Linked DNA regions of Homo sapiens: regions 1 and 3 are each linked to region 2. The links are contacts of gene promoters, found by promoter capture Hi-C in blood cells and fetal thymus (Javierre and others, 2016). All regions are on one chromosome and are shown on one strand. The core of a region is centred on a gene start or on the middle of the fragment in contact, and the rest is flanking DNA. Distances in the headings are between cores, read along the strand shown. Region 1 has its middle 23 kb from the start of CRISP2. Region 2 holds the start of PGK2 (phosphoglycerate kinase 2). Region 3 holds the start of CRISP2 (cysteine rich secretory protein 2).

The links. Contacts are between HindIII fragments. The CHiCAGO score rates a contact against its expected background, and 5 or more counts as called.
Region 1: a contact is called between a fragment that was not itself captured here and the fragment with the promoter of PGK2 in region 2, in 2 of 17 cell types (erythroblasts and megakaryocytes). The highest score is 16.4, in erythroblasts.
Region 3: a contact is called between the fragment with the promoter of CRISP2 here and the fragment with the promoter of PGK2 in region 2, in 4 of 17 cell types (erythroblasts, neutrophils, megakaryocytes and 1 more). The highest score is 13.2, in erythroblasts.

What each region holds. Positions count from the first base shown.
Region 1 is chr6:49,688,259-49,692,356 of GRCh38, reverse strand. It overlaps a transcript of CRISP2 not described here. Among named protein-coding and RNA genes, the nearest start is that of CRISP2, 23 kb to the left of the region's middle. The HindIII fragment of the contact is 2,571 bases long and covers 1,540-4,098 here.
Region 2 is chr6:49,784,756-49,788,861 of GRCh38, reverse strand. It overlaps PGK2 (phosphoglycerate kinase 2), which reads left to right and starts at 1,577. Exons shown (of 1, transcript NM_138733.5): 1 at 1,577-3,202. The coding sequence starts at 1,675. The coding sequence ends at 2,928. The HindIII fragment of the contact is 4,736 bases long and covers 1-4,106 here.
Region 3 is chr6:49,710,634-49,714,919 of GRCh38, reverse strand. It overlaps CRISP2 (cysteine rich secretory protein 2), which reads left to right and starts at 1,377. Exons shown (of 10, transcript NM_003296.4): 1 at 1,377-1,445; 2 at 2,316-2,419; 3 at 3,599-3,635. The HindIII fragment of the contact is 4,905 bases long and covers 1-3,127 here.

The DNA.
Region 1 (4,098 bases), core at 1,576-4,075, 98 kb after region 2:
TTGTCTTAATGACCTTTCTTTTAAACAAAAGTAATCAGCTTTTCGAACAAAGAACTTTTCTAAGCAACCATATGATATGATTCTTATGCAATATTTATACCATTCATAATTAACTCCAGCTAGATTCATCTGAGATAAATGATAAAACAGCAACATTTTCAAAATAGTTGTCTATAAAGTTAAATTTTAACAAAAAATTAATCAGTTCTACTCTTACTTGCTTTCTCCTTTTTGATATTTTGATCTCCCTACTGGTTTAGTTGATTTTTTTAAAGCCAACGAAAAGAGGACATAATTTAACCAAATATACAAATACAGCCTTCCAAGAAAACAAACAAGTGGAATAATCAATATTAGGTTGGTAACGACAGGGTAAAGTAAGCCCATCTTATAGATGAGAAAACATATACTAAAACTTTTTTTAAAAGTGGAAAGGTTATTGAAAACCAGAAAGTAGATCTGGCTAGACAGATGGTGAAATAGCATGAGCTACTAATGCCTACAGAATTAAACAGATTATCTGAATCATCCTATAACCATTAAGGAAATTGAATTAATAATCTTAAAGCTTCCAAAAAGGAAATTTCTAGGCCCCCAAATGGTTTCACCACATAATTCTGTCAAATACTTAAAAGAATAATTAATAGCAATTTTACAGTTTCTTCCAGAAAATTACATGGGAGAAAATACTTCTTAATTCAGTCTTTAAGATAGTATTATCTTAGTACTAAAACTAAAGACATTTCAACGGAAAAAATATATAGAGAGAGATCTATCGCTATCATGAGCATAGATGAAAAAATTTTAAACAAACATTTAGTAAATGTATCAGCAATATAGTAAAAGGAAAACATACCCTGACACAGACTTGAAACAAATTACAAGAATAAATCAAAATTAAACTGTGTCTAGAAGATAAATTGCCTATTATAGAATATATTCATTGTATATATAGCTCCCCAAGAATTTCTTTGGAAATTGATTTTTTGACAAGATGAGCGTTTCTTCATCCTAATCTTAATAATTCAAGTGTCTTACAAACTATGTTTTAAAATATTTAAGCCTATTTTAGGAGAGAAAAGGAATATTTATATTTGTAACTGCAAGAGCACTGAGGTAGTGTGACAATGTGAGAGAGAAGCAAACAGAATATTCCACTTGAGTGGTTCTCATATGAAGCACTCCGTTATTGGGGTGGCATTTGAAAGGTTTTAAATACAGAGTTTTCTTTAAAATTTTAAGATTAGAGTTAGCTTTGTGGGTGGAAGATCTGATCTGGTCCTTAACAGAAGTGACTAAAAAATAACCTTTATAAATACTTTCAGGTAGTAGGAAAATCTTTGCTATTCTCATAGCATTCTTAAAATTTATCTAACTCTAGTGACTGGTTAAAAAAAAAAACCCTCTATACCAGAATCTTTAAAATTTAATTGCTAATTAAGAGTTACACTCAAAACACTTTTTCTCCCACTAAACTGAACAGTTGTTTTAGTGTAATGTATGTTTTGTCTTATATAATTGAATTTGTATCACTAAGCTTACCTTCATTCTACAATAATAATAGTAAATTCTTAGATACTGTATAGTTATTTAATTTTTCAAAATGTTAATGACGATTTTGATATATACCTTTTTAACCAACGAAAATGTCCAAATCTAAAGTAAAATGTCTTCAGAAATACTCCAAATACCCACAAACATTTGATTTTATAGATTTTGCTGAATCTTTTCCAAAATGAACATTTTCAGTGAACATTATGATATCATTGCTAACTCAAGTTCCTCCTTCATTTGGTCATGTATTAACTATTAATCTGTGTTTCCTTCTACATTCATGCTCCCATAATTCATTGATTTCTGTCATTTGATTGTGCCTCAGCCTATTTCTTTTCATACTTCCTTGCTTTTGTTTATCTTAGTTTTTCTTACTTAATCTGGTCAGAATCGTATTTAATTTTAATTTCAGTCAAATGTTTCATATGAAATTACTCCTTCCTCTTGGATCACACAGGATTTGTTTGGGTTTCTTTCATGAAAACGTGCTTTCTCTATTAAATATTAAGTTACCCCAGGAGAAACCTGTGACTATTTATTCCTATGGCTTGCAGTGCATGCACACTGTGGTGTACATATGGTAGGCTATCATTCAGTATTTACCACATGAATGGAGATGTCTTTATCATCAATTCTGTTCTCAATCAGGTATTGACTAAATAGGAGACAAGATACCTAAGGGTACAGAATATTAAAAACTTTTTTGATAAGCAAACAATATGAATTTTACATTAGGAAAATCCATAACTATGTTCCAAATGCAAGTTCTCTTTAAATTGCTGACTGATATTTATTAATTCCAATAAAGCAGATATAGAAATTTTAAAGATAGAAGATGCTCTTATAAACAGCTGAGAATTTTTTTTAATATACTCATTTTTGTCTTCTGCTTTGAAAACCCTCCCACTGTCCTCTAACTTGGTTTCTCTCTGGAAAGAAAGAGTGATGTGGAAGAGGGTGAATTTATCACCTTTTTGTTAAGAATAGTGAGGAGAGGGGGATTCTGATTAGAACTTAGATTAACCCATACTATCTAAGAATGTGATAAGTTCCTCCATTTACTCAGAGTATACTTTATGTTCTTAGAAAACATTAGAAAATATTTAATGTACATTTTGTTTCTTTTTAATAAAACTTATTCCTAAAAATGTAAAAGTTATGGAGTAAATTTTTAATGATTAAAGCGTTATTGTTATTATTTTTAAAAAAGAAATTTTTATACCTATTTTATATCCAGTCATCTCATTAAACTAATTAGTTTTAGTAATATTTTGAGTTGTTTAGGTAGTAAGTTATTTAAAATACTGCTTGGCACATAATGAGTGATTAATAAACAATGTTATTATCATCCAGGACTCTGCTATATTCCAGTAAAATAGATTAATAACTCAGTGCCATTTTATAGCATTAAAATACATATAAGCAAGAAAATAATAAAAACATAAGTAATTATAGCCCAATATGATAAATACCATACTAGAGGTATATATTAATTTGGTGTTGATTGGGATGTTTTGATGTCTGTAATATAATTTTAAATATGCTAGTATAAAAGGGTCTGTCTAAATATGTGTGGTGGTTTTAAATTATGCTTTAGGAATGGTCATTTTCTTTCATCAGAAATTCATAATCCAGGCTGGGCACAGTGGCTCACAGCTGTAATCCCAGCACTTTGGGAGTCCAGGGAGGGCAGATCACCTGAGGTCAGGATCAGGTCAGCCTGATCAACATGGTGAATCTTCATCTCTACCAAAACTACAAAAATTTGCCGGACGTCATGGCAGGTGCCTATAATCCCAGCTACTTGGGAGGAGGCTGAGGCAGGAGAATCGCTTGAACCCGGGAGGTGGAGGTAGCAGTGAGCTGAGACGGCGCCATTGCACTCCAGCCTGGGCAACGAGAATAAAACTCAGTCCCCCCCAAAAAAATAAAAGAAAAGAAAAGAGAAAATCATAATCTAGGGTGTACAGCTAGTGTTTACTCAGAGCAAACTATAAAGATAATGTAACTGCTACAAATAATTCAACTAATAATACCTTAATCAATATGAGACTTTTTAAATGAAAGTAATGAGATTCAAAAATGCATTTTTGTGGAAATAAGGTAATGTAAAGCAGTCATTTTGGAAAGAGGCTCTCAGCATAGACATTAATGGTATTCAAAATTTTCTACAAAATTTAGAGGCAATCCCCACTCAACAGGTAACATTAACAGAGTAAGATCTGTTTTCGGAATATTTTCTCATCACAATATAATGGCTTTTTGGCCTGTACCTTAAAGCCCAATTAGTTACCAGCTAGGTTGCTAGTAAATGCCCAGTGACTCATTTGTGGCAGATAATATTTTAATGTATTTTCCTAATTGAAAAAAAAAGCATTTTTATTTTGTATTTTATTTGTATTTATATTCTGTATATTTCCCAGTTGACTAGCCTTAAAAAATAAAAAAGAAACATCCTTATCTTAAAGTCTTCTAGTATTAACAGAAGAAGCACCACATAACACAAAAACAAACACGCTTTTCTAAATACAAGGAAAACTGAAT
Region 2 (4,106 bases), core at 328-2,827:
CTTTCAGTTAGTAAGGCACATTTAAGTTTTATCCAGGGCTTTTGTGTAAGTAAATAGCTTGTTTCTTTTCTTTTTTTAAAAAATAATATTCCATTGCATGGATATATCACAGTTTATTTATTTATTACTTGAAGAATATACAATTTTGGTAATTATTAATAAAACTGCTCTAAACGTTTGTTTACAGAAGTTTGAGAGAATACAGGTTTTTGATGTCCTTGGATGAATATCTAGAAATAGGATTGATGACTTGTATGGTAAGTCTATGCATATTTCTAAGAAATTGCCAAGCTGTTTCCCAAAATGTCTGTAGCATATTTCATTCCTGGGAGCAACAAATGAGAGTTTCTGTTACTATATATTTTAACACCATTTAAGTTTGCTTTTAAATGCTGTTGACTCGATGTTCAACATTGAGGAACCGATAAACTGTTTTTTAAAGTGGCTGCACCATTAGACATTCCTATCAGCAATAAATGAGGATTCCAATTTGTCCACTTCTTTCTCAACACTTGTTTTTATTTTTTATTTTAGCCATCTTAATAGGAGATGCCTCAAATATATTTCTGTCAAAGCCTTCATTTTACATATTTAGTTCACTCAACTTATGGAGTAGAATGAAAAAAACTGTAAAGCCAATTTTCATTACTAAACCAACTAGCCACATACATTTGCTTTCTCCAAAAATAGAATATCTTACTCACTTTCAATTCTAATATATGTTTTCATCTTCATGAAAACCATGCATTTATTTTTCAGCTCAATTTCTAAGTTGTACAGGTAGGAAAGCAAACAGAGAGGAGACAAAAAATAAGGAGCCTCATCATAACATTGTAGTCTGAAAGAAATGTCACCATTACTTTCAGCACTTGTTACTGATACTCTCTTTGCTATGATCTTATGGGATTCTCCTGCAGAAGTGACCAAACATTCTTTCATGGTAGTCTGAAAATGGAAGAAGCAAAGTAATGAAAATATGACAGCATTCCCACCACGTCCCAGAATAGATCTAAAGATGAAGACTAACAACAAGCCACATCCTCAAAGAAATATTTATCAAGACAAGGAAAAAACAGAACTATACTATCCTGACTTGAATAAGCAAGGTTTCATATGAAAATCATTATTTCAAATATTCCTTTTATTTGGCACTGCAGAGGTTTTTACATATCAAAATGGTTAAGATTTGACATGAATGAGGTGTATGTAGGTTTGCGGGGGTGGGGGTGGAGTTCTTTTTGTTTTGTTTTTAATAATAAAAGCAACTGTTAACCGAGCTGTGGGGTGGGGGCAAAAAGAGCCAGAAGGCGGCGCACACCTCAGGACTATTCTTGTTTTTTTAGAACCATTCTTATTCTGGGGTTTCTTCACCTACCCAAGTCTCGCCTGAAGCCAGGTACAGCTCTATTCCACTACATGACCCTCTGCCCAGGAAGTTGGAATCTTCACCTAGCAACACAGTTCAGATCGAGATTGACAGGACCATGAGCCAATCACAAAGCTAGATTTGCTTTCCAGTCTAACAGTGGCCGTTGTGCTGGAGACAGTGAGGAGAAGAAAGGGGCGGGACAAGGGCAAAGGCGTTAGAAGTCACCACCGACCCAGCCCCTCAACAGCAAGTTGGTTCTTCAGCATTAAGATCCAGGTGTCAGCCTATGTCTTTATATTGTCAAGATGTCTCTTTCTAAGAAGTTGACTTTAGACAAACTGGATGTTAGAGGGAAGCGAGTCATCATGAGAGTAGACTTCAATGTTCCCATGAAGAAGAACCAGATTACAAACAACCAGAGGATCAAGGCTTCCATCCCAAGCATCAAGTACTGCCTGGACAATGGAGCCAAGGCAGTAGTTCTTATGAGTCATCTAGGTCGGCCTGATGGTGTTCCCATGCCTGACAAATATTCCTTAGCACCTGTTGCTGTTGAGCTCAAATCCTTGCTGGGCAAGGATGTTCTGTTCCTGAAGGACTGTGTAGGCGCAGAAGTGGAGAAAGCCTGTGCCAACCCAGCTCCTGGTTCAGTCATCCTGCTGGAGAACCTGCGCTTTCATGTGGAGGAAGAAGGGAAGGGCCAAGATCCCTCTGGAAAGAAGATTAAAGCTGAGCCAGATAAAATAGAAGCCTTCCGAGCATCACTTTCCAAGCTAGGGGACGTCTATGTCAATGATGCTTTTGGCACTGCACACCGCGCTCATAGTTCCATGGTGGGAGTGAATCTGCCCCATAAAGCATCCGGATTCTTGATGAAGAAGGAACTAGATTACTTTGCTAAAGCCTTGGAAAACCCAGTGAGACCCTTTCTGGCTATACTTGGTGGAGCCAAAGTGGCAGACAAGATCCAACTTATCAAAAATATGCTGGACAAAGTCAATGAGATGATTATTGGTGGTGGAATGGCTTATACCTTCCTTAAGGTACTCAACAACATGGAGATTGGTGCTTCCCTGTTTGATGAAGAGGGAGCCAAGATCGTTAAAGATATCATGGCCAAAGCACAAAAGAATGGTGTAAGGATTACTTTTCCTGTTGATTTTGTTACTGGGGACAAGTTTGACGAGAACGCTCAGGTTGGAAAAGCCACTGTAGCATCTGGCATATCTCCTGGCTGGATGGGTTTGGACTGTGGTCCTGAGAGCAACAAGAATCATGCTCAAGTTGTGGCTCAAGCAAGGCTAATTGTTTGGAATGGGCCGTTAGGAGTATTTGAATGGGATGCCTTTGCTAAGGGAACCAAAGCCCTCATGGATGAAATTGTGAAAGCCACTTCCAAGGGCTGCATCACTGTTATAGGGGGTGGAGACACTGCTACTTGCTGTGCCAAATGGAACACTGAAGATAAAGTCAGCCATGTCAGCACTGGAGGCGGTGCCAGTCTAGAGCTTCTGGAAGGTAAAATCCTTCCTGGAGTAGAGGCCCTCAGCAACATGTAGTTAATATAGTGTTACTTCCTTCTGTTTTCTGTCCATGGCCCTTAAGTCAGCTTAATGCTTTTACATCTCGATGTGACTTTTGTTAAAATCTACTCCTAGATCAAGACCTATGTAATGGACAAGCAGCAGGCCATCAGGAACTCTTAATATCAGCACAGCAATTCATTTTAGTTTGGTCACGCATTTGCCTGTTCAAGTTCTCATTTGAACTTCACCATTGTGCTATCTAGGGAGGACATATTCTTAAGTTGCCTATTAAAGAAAGTGAGCTGAAGAAACTGAATCTTTTTATTTTAGTCCAACTTTGCTATTGTTTCATAATTTGAAACCCAAAAGATAAAACTTAATTTGTTGGGAAAGGGTGGAATGAAAGTTGACAAACAAACAATAAATATGCCCAAATAAACTGAGAAAAATAATTACATATAAAGAACTCATGGGTACCATTAAAGTTCTGCTAAGGGGAAATGTTATACTAAATAGGACCAAAAAAAAGAGAAATGAAAGACACTTATTAAACCCAAGGAATTTTTAAAAAGAAAAGAAATTAAACTCAAGGTAAGAATTATGTTTGTGTGCATATCAATGCACAAGATTACACACAAATGCCAGCTAGAAAAAGAGCTACAAGTTAAACCCAAGTTGTAAATAAGTAATTGTTTTATTTTTAAGGCAGGCATTATTTAATAAATAGATAATATAACTGGTAAGTTCTAAAACTTGGTTTTTGAGATAAATAAAATATATATACATAGCTGGTTTAATAATGGGAAAATAGAGATAAAAATTCTCTATTAGAAAACAGAAGATAAAATGATAAGAAATGTAGAAAAAACAAAAACACTTATTGGAAAATATTTTGCTTTATTCTGTAGACAGAGGTAGTTTAGGGCAATGCTATTAACAAGAATAGTAATTAAGAGTAAAAATGCAGATTAACCTTTCCCAGCTATAATGTCTTATGTCCCATAACCGCAGATCAATTGTGATATTCAATATCCTGAATAATTGAGCTTCAAATATGAATCTTAATACATCTGAAATTTCAACATATTTTAAGCAGAATGTTAATATCATAGTAATCCCAGGAAAGATGTAGGAGTTAGGATTAATGGAACCAAAACTTGAGTAGTTGAAACAAGAATAAAACATGTCGCTCTCTCACATGAGAATCCAGG
Region 3 (4,286 bases), core at 128-2,627, 74 kb after region 2:
GAAATTCAGGTTCACCAACAATATCTGGCACCACAGCGCTCAAGTTGCTCTCATTCTGATATCATCAATGTGAATATGGGAACAAGTAATAATTACAGGAATGACTCTTCTCCAAAAATGAAAAATAAGATATTCACAGTAAATGATAGACTATTATAGTGCTGAGAATGAATTGTTCGGCACTAGAAAGAAAGAACAAATAGGTAGGCAGAGATTTTGTGCATATAGGTATTTGAAATGTCCAATTAATAACTTAAGCAAGATATGGTGAAAACATGAATATAGAAGTGAGGGACAGATTGAGGACTAGATTTCATAAATATTTAGAAAGGCAAACTGTCAGTAATGAATTTTGATATTGGATGTAGATATAAGCGTTAAGCAGTCTAAATTCCAAAATTTTTAGTCAGTGCTGCATGAACTGAAATAAGCAGCAAAAGAAAACTAAAACAATGTCTGTGTGCTGATCCCTTGAAATTACCTTGTAACACTGCCAAAGGAAAATGGCACTGAGCACCAAGTTTGTTATAGTTTCAGTTGTGCCCAAGTGAGTCTCCAGAGTTGGTGAAATCTCAAGCCTCTTATTGCATGGCTTACAGAGAACCAAGGTATGACGGATATTAATCCTTGGCTTGACATCTTTTGACCCATCTCTCTTCCTCTAGGTCATAAGCGAATTCACTCCTTTTCGCTTTGAAAACAACTGTGAATAGAAGAAAATGCACCTATTACTCATCCGCCTTCTGAGAGAGAAAACATGTCTTTAACCCATGCTTGATACGTATGCTAAACTTGCAGCCAGTAGCCTTGGGTCAGGAGTTCTGCGTATTTTCATAAGAGTTGTTCCTGTTACTCTTCGTGAATTTTCTCACCATAAAACTGTTGCCAACGGGGAAGAGGGACAAGAACATGAAGTGTTTATGAGGGAGCCTGAAACTGACAACCTGTGTAACTGGAGTGCGTCGTTGGCATGACACTGGCAGCGCACTGCAAACTTAAGCACCTGTGGACTCCTAATTAGCTCTTTAAATTGAACTACATTAATTCAGGCATTCTTGTTTGAATGCGAACGCCTCCTTTTTCAAGCCACCCCCTGGGCAACCCGAATCCTTATATGACCTCCCTCCTCCTCCTAGTACGGCGCAGGTATGCGAACAGACATTTTCTTTCCTCATCAACTGGTGGTAATGAGAAAAAGAGAACTCTGCTTTTCACAAGGGAAAACGTGCAAGATTTTCTCCGTAGTAGGGGAGGCGGGGGCGATGGGAGGAGAGCAGCTCACGTAGGCAGATAGCGGCGATGAAAGCATAAAGCCCAGTGACGTCGCCCACACGTGGCGCCTGGCAAGTGAACAATCGCGGTGAGAGGGGCGCGCCGCAGCTCCTCAACGCCGCAACGCGCCGGCCCAACTGCAGGAAGGTCTGTGCTCTGGAGCCAGGGTAAATGTAAGACCCGGATTGGAGACTAGAAATGGCTAGGGACGGGGAGGTGGGGTGAAGCACAGGGGAGAGAACCATCGTTGAGGTGAGGGGGTTTCTGATCCTCCTTCGCTCCTCTTCCGGCATCTGGAGGGCACATAGCTAATGCCGGGCAGACTGAGAGTTCAATTTTGTTGCTTAGCGCCGACCTACCATAACTTTCAACATGCTTCTCTATGTTTAGTCTATTGAAACTCTTTACCTACCTTAAAAGAGAAATCATTCTAAGTACATAAGACCCATTGAATCATAGTAGAAGCCTGAAGTCATTTCTCAATCTGCTTTTTACGAAGTCAAATTAAGACTCTTAGTTTCTAATTGATGTTTTGAATGTACAGTTATTAGAAACTGTAATAACAATTAGAGTTGGGGTCATTGACTCTGCTGGACTTTATATCATCTATTGGCTTCCAGAATTTAAAAAAAAAATGAAGAGACAAAGCTGTTACCCCCAAATCCACGTAGTTAATACTTACCATGTGGGACACTGCTTATGGAAATGATCTTTTAAAGAATGGGTTGAAGTCCTAGATAAGGGGTTGGGAGTCTTGAAAAAAGGTTGCAATTTTCCAAGCAAGTTAGCCAACTAGTAGTTACTGAACTTCAAGAAGTCCACTTTTTTGTTAGTGTTTGAAGGAAATATCAGGGCGTTGAAATACAATCTGACCTCAGAAGGACAATATGGTCTTAACGCTGAAATCAAATAAATACAGTAAATTATTAGAAACAATACTAAACAATTGAGTCAAAATTTAAGTTTGTGACAAAGATTATAGATACCATCTATAAGGGTATTCTTCACATCTTTATTTTAAATATTTTGTTTCCTTGTTCTAGGGTTATAAAATTATACACCATGGCCCTCCTAAAGACACTCTAGGAAAACCATGTCATCCTGATCTTAAAACACCTGCAAGAAAGAGCACAGTACTTCACCATTAGTAAGTAGCAAAGAAAAAAAATGGTAGCCAACTTTTCAACTATATATCAATATGGGTTTAAAGGAATAAAATGTAATTATATGGAATAGAAAAAAATATTTTTCCTTGAATATACTCTCACCAACAGTGACATTGCTTTCATTGACTCAATGAAGATGAGTATAGGTTAGATGGTTGAGGTTATGAGAGAGAAGAGCAGCAAAGAGGAGAGTATGGCATCATGGCCTATTATAGAATTCTGGCTCATCAGATGCATACACTGGGTGATTGAGCTATACAAAACTCTTCAGGCTCCTGTGTATGGCTTTCAATGAGCTGATGAGGATACAACAGCCCAGATGTTAGAGCATTTTCCTAAAGTCAGCCAGAAGGTGTCTAATAGAACCAGGCCTTGAACATGTGAATCTCGAATTAGATTATACTGATTGTATTTTCCTATAACACCTGGAAGGAAACACATGTCTCTTAAACACTTAGTAATTAGCAATTCAATCAAACAGCATATGTTTATAGAAAGCTCTTATGAGCTCAACAAACTAGCAGACATTGCAAAAGATAATAAAAACATGAATAATTTCCGTTTATTTGTATTATGTGCATAATGTGTTTATTGTATTAGAGGTGTTACATACATTGTCCCTTCCAGTCTTCAAAGCAAAAACCTGTGATATAAAAATCTACATTTTACATAAGAAAAACACTGAAGCTTGGCATAGATTTCCCAGACCTGATGGTTTCCAAAGAATGCACCCGTAACCAATAAGCTACAGGTAGTTGATAATTAGAAAGTAAAAATCATAGACAGCTGAACTATGAGAGTTCAGCTATAAGGCAGAATCCTGGTAACCTTCACAGTAGTTAACCTGTCTTGGGTTGTCAATATAGAAATACTAGTCCAAAAAGGCCACATGCAGATTATCGTGTGCCTAAGGAGAAGGGAGAACTGATTAGAAAGGGAGGGCATGATTTACTTACTCATGTTAAAAACTATGTGGGAAGCAAATAATGTCAAAAGCATTATCAGACAACTGACAATGAAGTTTAAGGTTACTGGTATGAAAAATACTACTTCAGAACTTTGTTGACTTAGATTTATTTAACAAAACCAGAGTTTGACAAAACAGGAATATGTGTAATATATATGCTGCTCTAAACCTTCCACCTTCTTTCTTTCTAAAGATAAAGTAGATATTTCATCCTGCTCAGAAAACCAACAGTAAGTGTTAAATCATTGATTTTAATGTGAATATTTTATCATGCCAATCATTTTTATGTTGTCAAGGGTAAAATGATTAATGAGTTTGCCCATGATTTTATTTTTTTGTTTTTTGTTTGTCTGTTTGTTTGTTTGTTTTAGAGACAGGGTCTCTTTCTGTCACCCAGGCTGGAATGCAGTGCTGTGATCATAGTTCACTGCTGCCTCAAACTCCTAGGCTCAAATGATCATCCCACCTCAGCCTCCTGAGTAGCTGGGACTACAGGCACTTGCCACCATGCCCAGCTAATTATGTTTTGTTTTTGTTTGTTTGTTTTTAGTAGAGATGAGGTCTCACTGTGCTTTCCAGGCTGATCTTGAACTCCTGGGCTCAAGTTATGTGCTCTCACCTCAGTCTCCCAAAATGTTAGGATTATAGGAATGAGCCACTGTGCCTGGCCTATCCATGATTTTCAAAACTTTAATAAATTTGTATTGAGAATGACCTCAAGTTAATTTTATTCTTTTACAGTTAAGAAGGTAAATTACAGCAATATTACGCACACACACAAAAAAATTTGATATGTAAAAATTTTTTACATTTTATTCTAAAAATAAGTAATGGAATTAATTCTCATGTTTGTGACTTGAGACAATTATACTAGAACTACC